Linked DNA regions of Homo sapiens: region 1 is linked to region 2. Evidence: promoter capture Hi-C in 16 types of primary human blood cells and fetal thymus (Javierre and others, 2016). All regions are on one chromosome and are shown on one strand. Each heading gives the region's core, a stretch centred on a gene start or on the middle of the fragment in contact. The rest is flanking DNA. Distances are from core to core; before and after follow the strand shown. Region 1 overlaps SRXN1 (sulfiredoxin 1). Region 2 holds the start of TRIB3 (tribbles pseudokinase 3).

Region 1 (2,712 bases), core at 163-2,662, 270 kb after region 2:
AGAGTCTGGGAGGCTCTATGCCAAATTCATAAAGGTAACTGTCCCAAGAGGGCAAAGGAATAATCAGGACTAGGTTTTGTGGTGGGCTTCCGCTTGCCTCTAATACTTTAAATTTCTAATATTTAATTATTTAACATTTTAATATTTTAATGTTTAAACGGTAAATATGGCTGAATGCAGTGGCTCATGCCTGTAATATCATACTTTGGGAGGCCAAGGCGGGAGGATCACTTGAGGCCAGGAGTTGGAGACCAACCACCCCAGGCAACAGAGCAAGACCTGGTCTCTATAAAACGTTAAAAACAAAATTAGCTGGGTGTGGTGGTGCCTGTAGTCCTAGCTACTCGGGAGGCTGAGGCAGGAGGATGGCTTGAGCCCAGGAGTTTGAGGTTGCAGTGAGCTATAATCAGAACATTGCGTGCCAGCTTTGGTAACAGAGCAAAACCCCATCACAAACAAACGAACAAACACATTTTAAAAAGTAAATATACTTATATAAAACTTGTGAAATGGCTGGGCATGGTGGCTCACACCTGTAATCCCAGTGCCTCGGGAGGCCGAGGCGGACAGATCACCTGAGGCCAAGAGTTCAAGGTCAGCCTGGCCAACATGGTGAAACCCCATTTCTACTAAAACAACAACAACAAAAAGCCTTGTGAAATGAAAACAAAAAAAAAAAAAAAAAGGAAATTTAAATCTACCACGGTCAAGTGGGTGGGTTCCAGGGCGGTGAAGGCACATACTGCCTTTCACTGGAGCCAAGTTCCTGGGGGCAGAGGTTTTTTTGGGGAGGGACACTGTAGGTCATGGTAGCCCAGCCAGTAGGAGCCCAGAAGCTTCTTGGAGGAGGTACCACCTTTGCTGAGCCTGAGATTCTCTGGCCCAGCACCCCCAGTATAGACAGGAATGGGTAGACATGTGCGCAAGGTTACAGAACAAGAGCTGATAAATAGAACCTGAACTCCAGACTCATCCCGGCTGAACCCGGGTTAACTATCCCGCCTCTTTCAGCCCTGCGCGTGCATCCAGCCCCTTCCCACAGCTGTAGCTCTTGCAGGCCAGAGGGACGGCCCTGCCGCGGGGGCCGGAGAGCAGCGCCACCTGCTGCTGTAAGAGGGAAACGCAACTTCCGGCTACCAGCAGGTTACACCCTTTAAAACCCAGCTCCTCTTCCTTAAATGATCAAGCAGTACCCCTCTACTCCGAATCTGTTCTGCACCTCCTTCGCAGTGCCTGGCAGGGCCCTTAGCGCTGTCTGGTTGGGTCTTCTCTGCAAGAAGGAAAAGTTGTTTCAGGAGGGGGCGACCATCTTCACTCTCATTCCAGCCCAGCGGGCACAGGAGGAGTTTACTCACAGAAGACAGGGGCACCTCACCTTCGCTACAAACCTTAGGGGTACACAATCCATTTGACAGCCTGGAAGAAGTCCCCAGGGAAGGGACAGAACCGCCCAAGGTCACACAGTTAATGAGTAGACAAGCTGGGGGGAATGAGTAGACTCATTCCACTGGGGATGGAAGTGGGGAAGTCACCGTATTTGAAAATAACTGACGCAGTTATTAGCAGCTCTTAGCATGTGGTCCCTGAACAGCAGCATCAGCAACATCTGGGAACTTGTTAGAAAAGCAAATTATCAGGCCCTGCCCCAACTCGCCTCAATCAGAAACTCTGGGGGGCCGGGGGCAGTGGCCATGTCTGTAATCCCAGCACTTTGGGAAGCTGAGGCGGGAGAATCGCTTGTGCCCAGGAGTTTAGGACCAGCCCAGAGAACACAGCAAAACCCTGTCTCTACAAAAAAATGAGAAGGGCGCACCTGTAGTCCCAGCTACTCAGGAGGTTGACGTGGGAGGATCACTTAAGCCCCGGGAGGTCAAGGCTGCAGTGAGTCATGATCGTGCCACTGCACTCCAGCCTGGGTGACAGGGCATGACCCTGTCTCAAAAAAAAAAGAAAGTGGGGGTGGGGCCCAGCAATCTGGTATTTAGCAAACAAGCTTGAGACCCTGAACCATTGGTCTAAAGGAATTGCACACCCCCCCTTTTTTTTTTTAAATTAAATAAACTTTTATTTTGGAATGATACTAGATTTACAGAGAAGTTGCAGAGATAGTACAAAGAGTTCCTGTATACCCTTCACCCAGCCTACCCCAAGGTCAACATCTTACATCACCATGGTACATCTGTCAAAACCAAGAGACTGAAATTGGTATATTAACTAAAATTCAGACTTTTTTCAGATTTCCAATTTTCCCACTAATGTCCTGTTTTTGTTCCAAGACCCAATCCAGGATGCCACATTGCACTGAAGACACTCTCCCTTTTCAATTCTATTACTGGTCACCTCAGTCAACTTTCCCGGGGAAAGAGAATGCATGGGAAAAGCTCTTGTCCTTATTATTGAACTGGAGAAACTGAGGCTTAAAAGTGCCGAGTGACCAAGTTCCCTTAGAGGGCAGTGAGAACAAGGCCTGCCTTACTCTGTTCCCTTTCCCCAGGGACTCTTGGTTTTCAGAAGCCCCTCTGGAATGTCCTACCTGGCCTAACCCCATACCAGCAGTGCAGACAAGGAGGCACTCCTACTACAGTGGGTCCAGCCCATGGAGAGACTCACTTCCTGCCCCAACACCTCTTCCCCTAGACCCTGAGGGCCAGGACAATGTCTTAGTGCCTTCCAACTTGGCAGAGTGAGGCCCCATGAGACAGAGAGAAAGGG
Region 2 (3,016 bases), core at 115-2,614:
GCGGTGGCTCATGCCTGTAATCTCAGCACTTTGGGAGGCCGAGGCAGGTGGATTATCTGAGGTCAGGAGTTCGAGACCAGCCTGACCAACATGGAGAAACCCTGTCTCTACTAAAAATACAAAATTAGCCAGGCATAGTAGCGCATGCCTGTAATCCCAGCTACTTGGGAGGCTGAGGCAGGAGAATCGCTTGAACCCGGGAGGTGGAGGTTGCAGTGAGCCGAGATCGTGCCATCGCACTCAATCCTGGGCAACGAGTGAAACTCTGCCTCAAAAAAAGAAAAAAAAAGAAAGGTGCTGGACGCCTAGGACGCAGAGGGGTGTTTCACCCCAAATCAAGTAGCACCAAGCCCTCCCAGGCCTTGGGTGCAAGCATATTAAAGGCCTCTTTCCCTCTCTGTCTCCATTGTTTACACTCCACTGAGCATCCGCAATGTGCCACACACTGTTCTAAGCGTCTTACACATATTAAATTATTTAATCCTCACAACAACTTTATGAAGTGAGCGCAATTATGAGCCCATTTTATGGAGCAGGAAGTTGAGGCAGGGTTTTAGGTAGCTTTTCTGGGGTAGCACTGTGGGTTGGAGCGGAGGTGGAGTGCACTCTTAGGCCAGCTGGCTCTAGGGGCTCTTCACCACTAGGCCGCACTGCCTCTAGCAAAGGGACGCGGGGAAGCTCAGCAGACCTTAGGCCTCCCAAGGGCGCCACGGTGGTTCCTTTGAGCCCAGAGTCAGCTCTTAAGTCCATAGGCCTTCCTGAAGCTTCTGAACCACTTGCCCATAGCTGGGCCTCAGGCTGGCTCTCAGTAGAATGTGGAGAATGGAGATTCCCGCATGTCCACTTCTCCTAAAGGTTTTATAAGGCAGTGCTGGGAATGTGCTTTATAAAAAAGGGGAAGCACCCCGACAACAGTCACTGTTTGCTCTTTTAAGCACCATCCTGAGAAGGAGGAATGTTCTTCCCATTTCATAGGTGGGGAAACCGAGGCTCAGAAGAGCAAATTTTTGGCCGGGCGCGGTGGCTCACGCCTGTAATCCCAGCACTTTGGGAGGCCGAGGCGGGTGGATCACGAGGTCAGGAGATCGAGACCATCCTGGCTAACAAGGTGAAACCCCGTCTCTACTAAAAATACAAAAAATTAGCCGGGCGTGGTGCGGGCGCCTGTAGTCCCAGCTACTCGGGAGGCTGAGGCAGGAGAATGGCGTGAACCCGGGAGGCGGAGCTTGCAGTGAGCCGAGATCGCGCCACCGCCCTCCAGCCTGGGCGACAGAGCAAGACTCTGTCTCAAAAAAAAAAAAAAAAAGAGCAAATTTTTTTTCCAAGGTGATAGGGAGAGTCCGTGGCTGATGTCTGCACTGACCAGACGCCCCTAGGGGGCCAGCGAGGGCGGGTCCCAGGTGCAGCGGATGCAGAGGAGAGAGGCCCGGGCGCGGCGCGGGGGATGGTGCGATCCCGGGCCCGAGGGCATCAGACGGCGGCTGATTAGCTCCGGTTTGCATCACCCGGACCGGGGGATTAGCTCCGGTTTGCATCACCCGGACCGGGGGATTAGCTCCGGTTTGCATCACCCGGACCGGGGGCCGGGCGCGCACGAGACTCGCAGCGGAAGTGGAGGCGGCTCCGCGCGCGTCCGCTGCTAGGACCCGGGCAGGGCTGGAGCTGGGCTGGGATCCCGAGCTCGGCAGCAGCGCAGCGGGCCGGCCCACCTGCTGGTGCCCTGGAGGCTCTGAGCCCCGGCGGCGCCCGGGCCCACGCGGAACGACGGGGCGAGGTACTCGGCGGGGTGCGGCCTGCGGACTCGCCCGGAGGCCGGGGGGCGGGAGGGGGCGGCCGGGGAAGGGGGCGCCGGAAGCCTCTGGGCGTCTGCGTGTTGCCGCGTGTTACACGCACGCACGCCCCTTACACACCTTTTCACAGACCCCGCCGTCGGGGCGCGGCCAGGTCAGATCCCTTTTGATCCGGGCCTGGGCTGAGTGCTCCCCCCGGGCTTCAGGTGACGCGGCCCCGCGGAGCGTGGGGTCGCCCGAGTTGGGCTGGGGAAGCCAGGGACGGAGGTGTCCGGCCGTCACCCCTAGAGGAGGGCGTGCGGGGGTCTGTTTTGCGTGAGTGCGGGATAGGGGAGTCGTGTGGTGCGGTGAGGGGCTTGTGGGGGGCACTGGAGGACTCTGGGGGTGGCGGGGGATCCGAGGGGGTCCTCGTGAACCCGCAGGGGAGAGTCCTGGGTGAGGGTGGGTCCCGAGCACCTGTGTCTCAGGAGATGGTGAGAGCTGTCTGGAGGGCTGGGCACTTGGTGGCAGGGGTTGGCGGTGCAGGGGACACCGCCGGGACAGGGCTGGGGTGCCCTGGAGCGGGGGAGCCGAGGGAGTGGGAGCGGGGGCGCAGCGCGCGATCTCTGGCCCGGCAGGGCCGCTGGTTCTCCCCAGTGCGCGGCTCCGGGTTTGCAGGTGGACGGTGCGCGCGTGTCTGCGGTGTGTGCTGTGCCTGCAGACCGGGGAGGGCGGGGGACGACAGCCACCTCCTTCCCTCTGCCTCACCCCCCTCCTGTCCCAGGGCCGCGCTTCAATTTCCGCTGAAACTTCTGACTCGGACACCCGCCGCCTTTCGCTTGGGCTCCCACGGGAGGGGCCTGGCTGCGGGGGGCGGGGCGGGGTGGGGGTGCGGCCTTGCTCGGGTAGACCATGGGTGTGACAGCTGGGAGGGCTGTGTGTGTGTGTGTGTGTGTGTGTGTGCGTGCGCGCGCGCGCTTGCGCTTGATGTAACCCGCCCTCATTTCCCTGGGTCCCGAGTGTGGCAGGGAACAGCAAGAGGTAGATATTAGGGGCTGCTTTCATTCCACATCACAGATTCTATTCTGCAGTGTGGTCTGCAAAATGCCTTGCCCAAGATGTATAGACTCAGTTACCGCATCTGTCCCCATCTGGGTGGAGCTTATCCCAGGCCCCAACAGGCTCTGAGGGATGGCCGGGGCCAAGGCAGCCTGGACTACTGATGTGGCACAGGCCAGAGGGACTCC

What was found. Contacts are between HindIII fragments. The CHiCAGO score rates a contact against its expected background, and 5 or more counts as called.
Region 1: a contact is called between a fragment that was not itself captured here and the fragment with the promoter of TRIB3 in region 2, in 1 of 17 cell types (total CD8 T cells). The highest score is 5.6, in total CD8 T cells.

Annotation. Positions count from the first base shown.
Region 1 is chr20:644,577-647,288 of GRCh38, forward strand. SRXN1 (sulfiredoxin 1) reads right to left here. Exons shown (of 2, transcript NM_080725.3): 2 at 2,039-2,712. Among named protein-coding and RNA genes, the nearest start is that of SRXN1, 7.3 kb to the right of the region's middle. The HindIII fragment of the contact is 1,157 bases long and covers 835-1,991 here.
Region 2 is chr20:379,396-382,411 of GRCh38, forward strand. TRIB3 (tribbles pseudokinase 3) reads left to right here and starts at 1,365. Exons shown (of 4, transcript NM_021158.5): 1 at 1,365-1,774. RefSeq lists silencers at 1,649-1,808, 1,829-1,938, 2,209-2,798 and an enhancer at 2,484-3,016. The HindIII fragment of the contact is 2,528 bases long and covers 763-3,016 here.